Regions from separate parts of the Homo sapiens genome. Here region 2 is linked to region 1. Evidence: promoter capture Hi-C in 16 types of primary human blood cells and fetal thymus (Javierre and others, 2016). All regions are on one chromosome and are shown on one strand. The core of a region is centred on a gene start or on the middle of the fragment in contact, and the rest is flanking DNA. Distances in the headings are between cores, read along the strand shown. Region 1 holds the start of SDHAF4 (succinate dehydrogenase complex assembly factor 4). Region 2 overlaps LMBRD1 (LMBR1 domain containing 1).

Region 1 (7,405 bases), core at 25-2,524:
ACCTTGAGGTTTGGATAATGTAGGACTTTCACTTTCTGTATTATTCATTTCTGGACTATTTAAAACTTATACAATTAAGTAAAATGTTTGTATTTGGGTAAAATGATTGCACAAAGGAAAACAAATTGCATAGAAATCTGGCACCATTTGAGGGCAATAATTACTGTTTTCAACTTACATAACTTCTCCAGGTGTCATATATTAAAATTATGTTTTGCGGACCGGGCGCGGTGGCTCACGCCTGTAATCCCAGCACTTTGGGAGGCCGAGGCGAGCGGATCACAAGGTCAGGAGATCGAGACCATCCTGGCTAACACGGTGAAACCCCGTCTCTACTAAAAATACAAAAAATTAGTCAGGCACGGTGGCGGGCGCCTGTAGTCCCAGCTACTCAGGAGGCTGAGGCAGGAGAATGGCGTGAACCTGGGAGGCAGAGCTTGCAGTGAGCCGAGATTGCGCCACTGCACTCCAGCCTGAGGGACAGAGCGAGACTCCATCTCAAAATAAATAAACAAATAAATAAATAAATAAATAAAATTATGTTTTGCATAGTCTGGGCTGCTAACTGTATTATCTTGAGAAAAATTTCCAACAACAATGGGTTTAAAAATGTTGGTTTTACTGAAAGCATGAATGCTTTTTCTGTACTGACAATTCCTGGCTTCATCTAATTTACGTTATACTTATTTGCCTTTGGCTCACTTCTGCACTTTTCCCATTTTTAAAAGATAAACTGTAAACTGCCACAAATCCTTTTCTGCTGGAGCCTGGACCAGGAGCGCGGATTCCTGTAAATAATGATGTAAATAAATAAGTAAATCAATGACTCCCATTCCCAAAGGGCCTTCTTTTCCATTTTTCTCTGGGGCATCGAAGTGCGGTGTGCCCTGCGAGCTCCCACAGGAACAACCCGGAACGTTTGTGGTCCTGTTGGGCCACCGCGTGCTCGGTAGGAAGCGGACGTCCCGGGGGCTGAAAGGGCCTTAGCGATTTTCTCGCTCTAGTCCCACCCGAGACCCGGGGCGCTGCAGGAACCTGCCCAGGCCACCGGGTGGGCGGCTGGGCGGGAGAAGCTGGGCAGCCCCTGGCAACACCGAACGGCCAGGACACACGCGGCTTCCTCCGCGGGAGGCGCTTCTCTCTGCGCCTGGGCCTTCACGACCCCTCCCGCGACCGTGGCCCCGAGGCCAGGTGCTTACTTGCCGCTCTCCACGCCGTGGCCGAGACCCAGCTAAGCAACCAGGGAAGCCTCGATGGGGTCATGGCGCCGACTCCCCGAGCCTCCGCGCAGGCGCAAAGCAGTAGTGGGAGGAGCAGGGGGCATGATCCGGAGCCTCCCTGCAGAGGGCGGGGCCTCCGTGGCCGGCTTTAGAAAAGGAGTTAGAGGCATCCCTGGGCTCTTTGGCCAAGAGAGACCCAGGCTACCTTGAGCCCGGTGTTAAAACGCCAAATCGTGGCTGCAGTTAGAAGAGGGAATAATTCCGTTCCGTTCATGCTTGTCAGTCTGAGCCGAAATGGCCCGTGGAAGATCCCTTTTATAGTTTACAAAGATTGAGCACCTTTTACTCTCTCACTCATGTAAAATGCTTCTTTTACCTAATTCTCCCTGTTTTGTGTTTTAAATCTTTGTTCAGTCAGCTCCTAGTTCGTCCATTCTGACCGACTAACCAGATGATATGAAAGGCGACATTTTTGAATGAGGTGCAAAGCAAGAAAAGGCTCTCCATCCAGGCCAGGATCCAGTGCAATGAGCTCTGCCCCTTAACCCTTACATCCCACCAGCTCTGATAGCGTTGAGTGGATGTGGCAGACCTGGATGCTTTGTGCAACTCGTGGAAATATTTACAGAATCATAGTGAAGGCCCCCAGAATTCTGGAATTTTGTCTTTTCTTTTAAAGAAAAGTTTCTGGCTAGCTATTGCGCCTTGGTAGTGTCTGACCATGTGACATCAAGTGGTTATACGATCGAAGCTTCTTATCATGAACTGAGAATTATCTGGTTCTCCTAGATAAGGAGATCCTTTTACGAAGAGAAAGTGGGCCGGGCAAGGTGGCTCACTCCTGTAATCCGAACACTTTGGGAGGCCGAGGCGGGTAGATTACCTGAGGTCAGGAGTTCGAGACCAGCCTGGCCAACACTCTACTAAAAATACAAAAATTAGCCGGGCGAGGTGGCACATTCCTGTAATCCCAGCTACTTGGGAGGCTGAGGTAGAAGAATCGCTTGAACTCGGGAGGCGGAGATTGCAGTGAGCAGAGATCACGCCACTGCACGCCAGCCTTGGAGACAGAGCAAAACTCCATCTCAAAAACAGAAAAAGAAAAAAGAGAGAAAGTGGGATACACAGAACTGGGCCAAAGTCAAAACGGAAACAGTTTTCATTTGTAGGGAGCTCACAGTCCTAATATCATGCTTTTGACCTTTAGCTTATATCTACAGTTTAATAATGAATTCCTTGTGACTAGCTGACTGAGGAAAAAATTCAAAGTCGGATGATGGCTTTGCTCAATAAACTGGCCCAGCTGGCAACTGACTGCTTTTCATATTTAGAGCCCCACTTAACAGAGGCCCTGAAGGAACAGAACAGGGAAAAAAAATTATTTCCAGCATGCATAATTTAGCTTATTTATGTATTTTATGTTTTTACAGGCACATGTCACCACACCTGGCTGATTTTTCTATTTTTAGTAGAGACAGGGTTTCGCCATGTTGACCAGGCTGGTTTCAAACTCCTGGCCTCAAGGGATCCACCCCTCTCAGCTTCCCAAAGTGCTGGGATTACAGGTGTGAGCCACTGTGCCTGGCCAGAATTTAGCTTATCTTGTATGCTTTGCCTAAAAAGAGACATGGCTTGAGATAAAAATCGACATTTCATAGGCAGTGACTGGTTTGTCAAGTGGCTGGGAACTGGGAATGTAAAAGTTTTGGACTGGGTCTTTGGAATAGGACCTCTCAAAGTGGTCCCAAAGCATGAAAACATTTGGGTCCTATTGAACGTTAAAAAAAAAAAAAAAAAAAAGAGCTTCCATTGCAGAAGGGCTCTTAATCAGAACAAGATTATTAGTTATCTATTGCTGCCTCACAAATTATCCCAAAATTTATTGGCTTAAAGCAATAAACAGTTATTCTCTCACAGTTTTTGTGGATCAGTAACCTAGAAGCCAGAGTGACTGTGGTTCTGGGTCCTAAATGAGGTTGCAGCCAAGCTGTTGGCTGAAGTCCCAGTCTCGTATAAATGCACAACTAAGGGAAGATCTGCTTCCAAGCTCATTCACATGATTATTGGCAAGATTTGGTTCCTTGTGGACTTTGGACTGGAAACCTTCTCAGTTATTTGTTAAGTGGGCTTCTCCAAAGGCTATCTTGCAACATGGCAGCTGGCTTTCCACAGGACAAATGAACTAAGGAGCAAGAAAGACCACTCAAAATGGAAGCCCTGAACTTCTGTAATCTCATTTCGGTAGCGACATCCCACCACTTCCACTGTATCCTATTATTAGGTCCCGGCCACTCTCAAAAGGGGATTACACAAGGGCTGCAACAGTGACCCATTCTGTGGACATCAATTACTCAGCCTCCTTCCCCCACAACAGGTGTGGACTCAGTAACAAGGTAGCCACGGTGGCAAGAATGGAGACATACATGTACTTTTAACACCGTCTTTCTTCTGCCATGACTGATTGGCTACTACCACTACTCGCCAACTGCAGTGACCAACTTGATCCCATGATACACTTTTATGTGGTCTGGGTGGCAGGTCTGATTACAATGAAATCCTACTGTTATGAAGGAGGTTGCAATTTGTTCTTACAGGAAGAGACAATTATTCTGCATTTAGATTGTTTTCCCTGATTTATGCTTATTATATACTTCACCTGTGGACTTACTGAATACCTTAACACACTACTCCATATTTAATACAATATCATATACAACATTGCTTCTTACCGAAGAACTCATTTTCTTGTGAAAGATGTAAAGCAGGGGACTAATGCCTGCAGGATTCACAGTCTTATATATTCCATCATCCAAAAGCAACCGATTTTATGGAATGACGGACAGCCTTATTGAAGGTTGTTTTGGAACGAGGTGAGAAAATACACTTTGGGATACTGCCCTAAAGGATTTGTCATATTTTCCAAATGAGTCAACGGTATTTGGTGATATATCTTCTGTTGACAGAATAACAGAGATCAAAGAGTAGAAAAGGGTCTGACTTCTTACTATTGCATATGACTTACTGATATAAAATATATTTTGCTTTCCATTGTAGTAGAGAAGAGACAAGCTCCGAAGGCCCCTGAACATGCCTGTATATTATTACTGAGTGTGCCAGACTGCAAGCCGTATCCATCTCCTGATGCTAAGCAGTTTCTGTAGTTAGTCATATAGGCACCTAAGTAGGTCAAGGCAATCACAGCATTACTACCATTTAACTGCTGCTCCCTGGGGGAGAGAGACTAGCTTGTTTGTTGTTTGCTCAAAAACTGCTTGATTCTTGATCCTGGATTCTTCTGTAATGCAACCCCCCATGTGCACAGACGTCATCCGGCCCTCTGCATCACACTGTGGGAATTGGGCTACGGGAACTGATGCAAATATGCGGACACTCTGGCTTCTATTTTGCTGTAATAAAGCTGTTTTGTCTTTTGTCCAGGAGTATCCTGTCATCATCCATGAAACTGCAGCAACCTAGCCTGTAACCTTGCAAGTAGGATAAAATCTCAGACCCTTCACTACTCTTGCTAGCCATCTCTGAGTCCAGGTTCTGTTGGTATAGCAATTTTTGTGCCCAGCTGGAATTGCCACCCAGCCATTTTGACCTCATTCCTCTAGGTAAGGTTAGAGAAAGTGGTGATGGTGCTAGCTGGAGTGATTGGCCCTGATGACCATGGAGAAAAGAGAGTAGGGAGAACAGTATAACCAGAAGTCAGGGGGGTCTCCTGGAATCCCTCCTCACAATACCATGTTTTTATATTTTATTTTAAAAAATACCATGCTGAATGGTAACATTTACATATAAGACTATTACAACCATATATAGGCAAGACCACCCACACCTCAGATCCTCTGTCATCCACTGGATACATAAATCTGATCAGCAGAGGTGCTGCTTGAACATAAAGAAAACAGAAAATAGTTGGCAGTGGTGAGAAGTCATAACCATCTAGATTCACGACCACTGACAGGACTAAGTACTGTATTTGCGACGTGTTATTAGAGAAATTTGGGACATAAAACATGCTGCTGCTTTTACACTATCCTGAAAATTCTGATTCAGGTGGTCCGTAATAAGGTCCTAGAATGTGTATTTTTAAAGTAGTCTAGGTAATTCTTGGCACGGACATTGCAAAGCCCTGCTCTATTTTGTTTTCTTCCTCACTGGCTCATGCATGTTTATAAAATTTTCTCTTATTTCATATGTATATATATATTTGAGTTGGGGGGTCTCCCTGTCGCCCAGGCTGAAGTGCAGTAACTCACTGCAACCTTGAACTCCTGGACTCAAGTGATCCTCCCACCTCAGTCTTCCAAGTAGCTGGGACTACAGGTGCATGCCACCAGGCTCACTTAAATTATTTTCTAGAGATGGGGTCTTGCTATGTTGCCCAGGCTGGTCTTGAATTCCTAGCTCAAGTGATCCTCTCACCTCAGCCTCCCAAAGTGCTGGGATTACAGTCATAAGCCACCACGCCCAGCTTCTTTCCTATTATACTGTTATTATGTATAGGGGTGGTGGTTAGGTCACAATTTTGTCTATGAGTTGCACACTATTGAGATGAGATTATTACAGAATCAGAGAACATCACACTGAGGTCCTGGACTTAAAACTGGATGAGGGATAGTAGTACTATGTCAGAAAGATGCATTTTAAATGTGTAAATATGGAGAGAATTATGCTTGCAGATGTTGGGAAGACAAAAAGATGGACTATATTACACCTGATGTGTTTTTATATTTGGTGCTGTCATCAAACCCATTTCATATGTTTGGTTAACCTTGGTAGAATAAAGGGTCCCATTTTCTACTGTGGAAACTAACGAGGTCAGATACATCTGCTGTCTTTGATGCCTGACAGCCCAAGCACTGGCACAAGACTTAAACTTGGTCAGTTGGACATTCTACTACGCTTTGAATCTGAAGTGATAAAACAAGTACTTGAAATCCAGTTTCCAGGGTCATCCTGGCTAGAGAAGAATACAGTCATTTAGCTCTGAGGTCATCAGAACTTGGCTATGCTTTTGGTCATCTACTTTCCTTTGGCTTCTATTTGTTTTCCAAACCTGGCTCTCTAGCCTTTCCATCAATTCTGTGAGCTACCTGATCCTCCTCCAATAAATTCTTTTTCTGTTTAGGTTGATCATAATTTTTTTTGTTGTTTGCAACCAAGAACTCTTACTGGTATACTTCAATGAGATTCATTCTCTAAAGTAAGAGTCAATAATACCATTTCAGATCATTGTTTCCTCTCTCCCCCATAACTGTACCCCATCTCCCACAATCTGAATTTGGAGGTGAATAGTGTGTGGTGGTTTCCCAGATAAATCAAGTAAGTTAAATTTGTTAGATTTTAAACCATGAACACAGATGTGCTTTTAGAACTGTATTAAAATAACCAAAAACTAATCAATCAACTATGATAAGAGCAATTTCCACTCAAATACTATTTATATGATTGAGTCCTTTGATAAACCTGAAAATTATCCAAACTTTGAATATGCACATTTCAAACTCAGAGCCAAGATATAGGAATATAAAAAATGTGCTTGGCAAAAATATGTGGTGGCTAATTAATATATTTACATTTTCTAGTTATAATGCACTTGGGATATTAGTTTATAAAAATTTTGAGTACTTTCTAAAAAGTAAATAATTATCAATAGCAATCAAAATTATTTTAACTATAATAATATATACAAAAGATATAAAAATACAAAGGCTACAAGTTATATAATTAGGCTGGTCTATGTTATAAATAAAATATATATACCTCTAGTATTCAGAGAATAAGCAAAGGATTACAAGGGTTGTAGCTGTTCCTCCAGATAGCCATTTGTTCATTTATTAACACCAGAGGCAATAACAACGCTAAAAATAAACATGCATCAATTGTACAATAAATACTTACAAAAACCTCTGTCTGTCACAATTAGTGAGTGCAAACAGAACTTCTACCCAACCTTAGTGCATTTTTATTTTCACAAGTAAAACAGAAAAGGAAAATAGTGAATTTAATGCTATTCAGCACCTTTAGTAAAGTCAAAAGACTCAACATCTCCATATATCAAAAACATTTGCATCTGTATCACCAAACATGTAAAGTTAATTATTTTGTTCCATCTTTAACATGAATTATTTTATTTACATTACTTTTTAGTTCAATAAATTTTAACAATATTTAAA
Region 2 (7,492 bases), core at 1,475-3,974, 900 kb after region 1:
TATGACTGGTGTTCTTATAAGAAGGGGGAGAGACATCTAGAATGTGTATGTACAAAGAAGAGGCCATGTGAGGATGCAATGAGAAGGCAGTGGTCTGCAAGCCAACAGGAGAGGCCTCAGGAGAATCCAGTGTTGTCAACCCTTTAATCTTGAGGTTCCAGCTTCCAGATCTGTGAGAAAATAAATTTCTGTTGTTTAAGCCACTGAGTCTGTGGCATTTTGTGATGGCAGCCCAAGCAGACTGATAAACTCTGGTTCTTGAAATTCCTCACTGGGCTTTCTGCAAAGTCTTGACTCCTTTCAGTCTTTTCTGAACATTTAAAATACAAATCTGATTATTTCATTTCTTTACTGCAAAAAGCTTTCAGTTATTTTAGAATGAACTCCATAAGCCTTCATGGGATAGATAATGCCTTTCTGGTGTGCATCTCTTCTGACTCCAAGTTCCCCTGCCATCCCCACACCAGTTATATGAGGCAGCTAACAAATGGCTCCTATTATTCACATGGCTATGAGTCTTCACATCCCCACTCTGTCGAACTATTCCTTCTGCTTTTGATGCCTGTCCCTTCCTTTTGTCTTCTAAGAAAATCCTTATTCTTCAAGTCTCAGCCTTAGCATTATCTCCCTAGGTCCCTCCTCCCCCAGGTTGCCCACACACAGGTGCTAGCTCCTCCCTATCCACATGTCACCCTGTACGGTATATTGTGATTTATTGCCTAGACTCTAAGTACTTAAACACAACATCTGGTTTTTCAACTTTGTCCTTGGTGCCTAGAATAGCTTCTTACACATGGGAGGTATTCAGTTGACAGGTGAATTTGTTAGAAAGAAGCCTTAAGCTTTGTCTATATGGTTTAAGCATACAAAAACTATTTTGAGTAAGGAGGAATATTTAGCCTGTTTTTGAGGTTGATTTTGAAACCTACAAGGTTAGAAGTATTTGTCTTGAATACTCCATATACTTTTCATTACTTTTAGTAATGTTTTGTTGGTTTCTGTCAGACCAACTTCTTAGCTTTTGATTTTGTTAGTTGTATTTTTTAAATGTATTTTTTTCATCCTAGATTCTATAAACTTTCTACATATTTAGAAGTTTACTTTTATTCTAACACTAAGGTATTTTTTTCCTCCCAGTCATGTGGAATGCCTTTATTAACTTTGCATTTTCATGAAGCTGATTTGTGTTATGAATTCCACTAATGAAGAACATATTTCCTTTGAAGTCCTTCTGGAAAATACCTAAATTAGAGATCATCTAAAGTGACAACTTTCCAAAAGGCCAAGGCTGTCATGTTCCATGTAAACTTCAAACAAGTGATTATTCATCCATGCAACAAGGTACTGGCAGAATGAGGACCCTGGAACTGACTTCTAGCTCAGTGCTACCATACCAAAGGAAATGAAAAATGCATATTGCAAAAGAAAAGGAAACACAGGAGCTTCAGGAAAGCAAAAAGCAATACAGAAAATAATGTTTTCCAAATATACTACCGAGCTCTTCAGTGAAAGATACGTACATAGTTCAGTAATATACTGTTTTAGAATCATTTCATAGGCAAAGCACAGTAAACACTGATTACAGCACAGAATTTAAGTATGACCTTGACCACATAAAAAGACAGTTGTGAAAACCTGGAAGAATGAAGAAGAGGGGTGGAAAGAGACCTAAGGGGAAAAGAGTTCATGTTGATATCCTCATTTTATGAGAGGGATGATGGGGAGAAGAGAGAAATTAAGAAATATGTCTCTGGTAGAGGGATTATATATCTTGAAGGGTAGCAGAGTATGCCACCCCAAAATATGCCATTTTGGCATACAAATTATTTTGAGCTTGTAACAGCAGATGCAAGAAGGATGCTTTGACCACCCCTTTTTCTTCCTAAAACAGGACATAAAAACTCCCATATGGAAGATGTCCTGTCTATACCAGAAGGAAAGTTAAATTTTTGTCATAAGGGCTGAGAAAAACCTGTACAAACCAACCTTGTTAAAGAAACCCTTATTGTATTAGTCCATTTGTGTTGCTATAAAGTAATACCTGAGTCTGTGTAATTTACAAAGAAAAAAGTTTATTTGGCTTACTGTTCTTCAGGCTATACAAGCAAGCTGGTGCCAGCATCTGCTTCTGGTGAGGCCTCAGGAACCTTACAATTATGGTGGAAGTAGAAGGGGAAATCTACGTATCACATGGTGAGAGCAAGCAGAGGAGGTTCCAGGCTCTTTTAAACAACCAGCTCTAGCATGAATTGATAGAGAACTCACTACCACTAGGACAGCACCAAACCCGGTTACTCATGAGGGATGTGCCTCCATGACCAAAACACCCCCCACCAGGCCCCTCCTCCAACACTGGGGATCACATTTTAACATGAGATTTGAAGGGGACAAACATGCAAAATATATCTCATTTTCCCAGTTACTGTTCCACCATTTTCTGCCCTGGCCCCAGCCCCTTTGTCTTGCCACATTTTTGTAATTTACTACTCTTTGTCCAATTCAATATGAAGTATTCAACTCTTACTAATTTGTTTGCTTTTCTCCTGTTAATTTGTCTTCTATTACAGAGCCCCAGCTGGGGCTCCTAAAATGGACAGAGAAAAGATTTTTTCCTCCCCTACAGCTGATTAAAGCTATGGGGGTAATCAATACAGCATCTAAAATGGTAATACAGGTTGATTATCCCTTATCCAAAATGCTTGGGAACAGAAGTGTTTTGGATTTTGAGTTTTTTTGTTTTAGAATATGTGCAGAATACATACCAGTAGAGCATTCCTAATCAAAAAATACGAAATCTGTAATGCTTCAGTGAGCATTTCCTTCAAGCATCATGTTGATGCTAAAGAAATTTCAGATTTTGGAGCATTTCAGATTTCAGATTTTCAAATTAGAGTTACTCAATGTGTATAACAATGTTAGGAGATGGAATAAAAGAGAAGCAAGAAGAAAATGTCTCAAGAAATTCTCTTACTGTAGGAAGTCAGTAGACAATATTTAAATATATTAAAGATAAAAAATACGTAAAGGAGAAATTTTATCAGAAGATAATAGCCATTGTGATTATATGTAAATATGTCTTGGAATTTTCTGGCAGCCGAGAAAAAAGATGATGGATAATGAAGATTTTACATTTGATAGAAGGAAGCACTCAGTTTTCCTCCTGATAATTTTTTCTGGCACCAAAATTTAGAAGGAAGTTACATTGTGAATTATTATGTAAAGAATGTTAACGAACAAATGTCTTTGCTAAAGTTTAAATAGAAAGACCATATGCAAGGAGACAGAATTTGGGATCTCCAGGAAAATCATTTTGGCTATCAAGAAATCTCAACATGGATTAGCTTTGTGTGTATGTAACTTATTCACTCAGCAAACATCTAAACTTGTAGTTATTTCAGGCACTGGATCGCGGCTACTGAATTTCTACAGTTAAAGAAGATAAGACCCATCATTTCAGAACTTGATCTAGGTAGGAATTAGTAGCCAAATGGCCTTTGGTAGTAACTGGACCTTGTCAATATCTACTAAGATTGTATGTGTCTGATATGATGAATAAATATACATAAAAGAAATCACTTTATCAAGTTACAGTTATAATCAAAGATACTCCAATTACCAGAATTTTCATATTTCCAAACCACAATACATCCTCTCCTGGAAGCATAATCAGCAGGTTACTTGATGACTGTGGGATTGAAGTGATGTGAGATAGGTAGCAAGGGGCATTTCAGGCATTTTGTGATGACGCTTGATTAAATATCCACCCTTCTTCAGCAGAGACCACTCTAAGGGGACCAGATTGCCCAAGTTGCCCGGATTGAGTTGTGCTGCCTTGGACAGTTCTCAACACATATATTGGCTATGTTTAAGTCTCAAGTGACATACTTTATTAGATTTGTACATATAGATTAAGCTACACCTCAGTTCTAGGAAAGTCACTCTTCTGACCTTTCTCCCTCTCCATGCATATTTTAATTTGGTAAGTTTTATTGGGGGCTACCTTATTCTTCTCATTGGCAAAATCACGAGAAGCACTTCTAATACCACCCATAATCTTCACCTGTGATTTCACAGGGAATTTGAACACTTTCTTTGTAGAACAGAGTCCATAAACAAAGATTAACTTATAACCTAGGGATAGGATAGCATTTCTCTGGAGAACTAAGCCTTTATGGTCAGGAATATAGTTTTCTGTGTGGTTCCCCCATAGGCTCATATCTGCTTCAGCTCTACACTGAAGCTGCTGGATAGTGCTCAAGACAAGTACGTGTGTAAAGCAATGTCTTCTGTTGCCCTAGAAGACACTTTTGATAGCAGATAAGGAGACAACAAAGTTAACACTTGGGGAAATTAGGAAGCACTCAGAGTACCTCATTTCCACATCAAGAGGTGATGTTTCTGTTGACCAAAACAAAATTTGTATCTAAAAGAAATTATTTTTTTACTTGCTCAGAGTTCATTCAGTGGCTCCCCAGGAGCATCTATGATATACTAGATTCTATTCTGGATCTTATTCTAATATTTAATGAAAAGCACTACCAAACTTGATATCTACTGTGCTTACCAGTTTAAGTTCCACTTTCTACTATATTTACCTGAAGCTTTTTGAAAACCTGAAGTGTGTGTATAAGTAAATATTTATACACACACAAAATCTCCATTGTGGAAGACCAGTCTTCCCAGTAAAAGAGTAATTTAAAGGAAATGTAAGTTTATCCCTGATGCATACAGTAACTCCAATGCTGACAAAATATAATCAAGCCTTAAAAGACTTCTGTAATGAATTTAGTGACTCATTCACTTGAACCAATACTTGAGTGCCTAGTATGTATTGGAAACTGCTATAAAATGGAGAAACAAATGAAAACACAAAATCGTGCCTATTTTCAAAGGTGTTTCGAAGCCAGGGGGGCAAATAGACTCAGAAAATTATAATGTCACAAATGCTATAAATGAGAATGCAGTGAGGCTAAAAGTGATACTCCCTTGAGCTTAGGAAAGGCTCAAAACTCTTGAGATAAGCAAATGCTAACCAAATTACAGGCAATAAATTCTTTTAAGCAGAAAGAATCTGGCTTTGGTTTAGTGAAACTATAATGGCTTTAGACAGTGGCAAGGAAGTAACAGTGGGGAAACGTCCTGAAGGGGCTGTGTGACTAGGGGCTATGTGACTAGGGGGCTGTGTGACTAGGGGCTGCGTAACTAGGGGGCTGTGTGACTGGGAAGCAGGGCTGCTGCATTAGAGGTGAGACAGATGGGAAGCCCGGGAGAAGAGTAGGGGCTGCTTCAGCAGTACAAACATGTGAAACATGGTAACCAGATGTCTCCCTCAAAATTACACTCAACCCTGGGAAAAAGGGAAACCCCAAATCAACTGACATTAAGTTTCTGCTCCCTAAGTGGTATGAGAAACAAACTAAGTCATTACAGACATAAATTCTATTTCTTGCATGCCTAAGTTTGCAAAATAAAGTTGTTCATAACCAAAACTAAATATTCTTAGTTACATCACTAGTAAATATTCTGATTTTAACTTGCCACTTAATTGTTCTGTAAATTAGTTACTCCACTATGGGAATAGAGAAAACATTTTTATACTTACATTGTCAAAGTAAAACCTCCTTAAGTTGTACTTACTATTTCAGAATGTTTGATTATTCTCAAGGTTTGTGAACATTTTCTATGAAGGGCCAGATAGTAAATAGGCTTTCACGACCACACAAGGACCCTGTCCCCCCACCCCCCACCCTTTTTTTTTGTTTTCCTTTTTACAACCCTTTAAAAATAAAGATAAATAAATAAATAAAATGCTTGGATTTGTTTTCCTGGCTGTAGTATGCCAACCCCTGAATTGTTCCATTAATCACTTTGCTTAAGGTAGTTTGAGCTTGATGGAACAAAGACAAGTAGGCTAAAGACAAATACAAACTTGGGAGATTGTTAATGAGAAAGAACTTTTTTCAAACACTTTTAGCACATTTCACAATTTTTTAAAGGCTAAACAACTTTTATTCTGAGTTTAAAGGTGATATGAACTTGTAAAATAATTCAAACAACTCAGAAATTGTGGCTGAACAAGAAAGTGAGTGAGCAGAATACGCATTGATCTTCAGATTTCTTTGGGGATCCATTCATCCCACATCTTCTCATATGGAACCCAGTTGGAGAAATGATGGACAAACTGATCTCTAAGTGACCTTCACCTCTAATATTTGTGACCGATTTCTTTCTTTTGGTTAAAGAGAATTATAAGTGAGACTCCAGGGTTAAAAATTGTTGAGTACAAGAGGTTTTTCTCTTTGTGCCGCAGTTTCCTCATCTGCAAAATTGGGATAATAATACTAACCGGTTCATGGGACTATTGAGGGCACTAAATTTGTATAAAGTGCTTAGTATAGTGCCTGTGAAGTGTTAAACTCAATATTTATTAGCTACTATTGTTACTATTTCTAAGATAACTTTATTTCATAATGCTCTTTAACCATCAGGGCTTCAAACCCTTTAAGAAATGCACCTTAACCCCTTTTTCACTTTGCTTCATTGCTTGTCTTCCTGTACCTTAACCCTAGGTTAAGTAACTAACGAGTCAAAAACAAGCACTTAGTTGTATTATGAGAGCTCAAAGCATAAAGAACCCTAAAGGGTAAATATTTTTGAGACTAAAAAAAAGGTTTCTGTAATGTAAATCATGCCTATTATCATCTCTATATTTTTGCTTAATGATCTTATTTTCTTCAAACTGTATTTCAAAACTCCAAATAATGAAATGCAAGTATAACACATTACAATTATTTCAAGCTTAGAAGCAGTCAGAGCACTTAATTACCAAGAACAAGCCATTGTGTTCCACCTTTTTCACATTGCTGTCTTGAAAAGACTAGTGTAGTCTTTGCCTATCAGTTTTGTTGTTCTGTTTAATATACAGAATGAAAGCTTTCTCTTCAAATTCCTCATGGGAACATTGTGAATTCACAACGAACATTTGTAAACCTTTTTTTTTTTTTTTTTTTTTTTTTTGGAAACAGAGTTTCACTCTGGTTGCCCAGGCTGGAGTGCAATGACGTGATCTTGGCTCACTGCGACCTCCACCTCCTGGGTTCAAGTGACTCTCTTGCCTCAGCCTCCCGAGTAGCTGGGATTACAGGCACCCGCCACCATGCTTGGTAATTTTTTTGTATTTTTAGAAGAGGCGGGGTTTCTCCATGTTGGTCAGGCTGGTCTGGAGCTCCTGACCTCAGGTTACCGCCCACCTCGGCCTCCCAAAGTGTTGGGATTACAGGCGCGAGCCACTGTGCCTGGCCTTGTAAAACTTACTTTTTTTAAGAATGAATAAAAAAATTGTGTACATACCATCATTGCAGAGTACAAAAAGTAAAATGGAATGAAATTGCTGTCACTTGACAGGCTAAAATATGCAATTTATTACATAAGCATCTGTTTCCTCATTTACCTCCAGTAAGCTTACTGCCCTCAATAGGCTGGTAAAAGTAGA

Evidence for each region. Contacts are between HindIII fragments. The CHiCAGO score rates a contact against its expected background, and 5 or more counts as called.
Region 2: a contact is called between a fragment that was not itself captured here and the fragment with the promoter of SDHAF4 in region 1, in 1 of 17 cell types (total CD8 T cells). The highest score is 5.4, in total CD8 T cells.

The regions. Positions count from the first base shown.
Region 1 is chr6:70,560,799-70,568,203 of GRCh38, reverse strand. It overlaps SDHAF4 (succinate dehydrogenase complex assembly factor 4), which reads right to left and starts at 1,274. Exons shown (of 3, transcript NM_145267.3): 1 at 1,200-1,274. The coding sequence starts at 1,263. It overlaps FAM135A (family with sequence similarity 135 member A), which reads right to left. Exons shown (of 22, transcript NM_001162529.3): 22 at 7,030-7,405. RefSeq lists a silencer at 927-986. The HindIII fragment of the contact is 5,796 bases long and covers 1-1,973 here.
Region 2 is chr6:69,666,721-69,674,212 of GRCh38, reverse strand. LMBRD1 (LMBR1 domain containing 1) reads left to right here. Exons shown (of 16, transcript NM_018368.4): 16 at 1-203. Among named protein-coding and RNA genes, the nearest start is that of LMBRD1, 130 kb to the left of the region's middle. The HindIII fragment of the contact is 3,759 bases long and covers 845-4,603 here.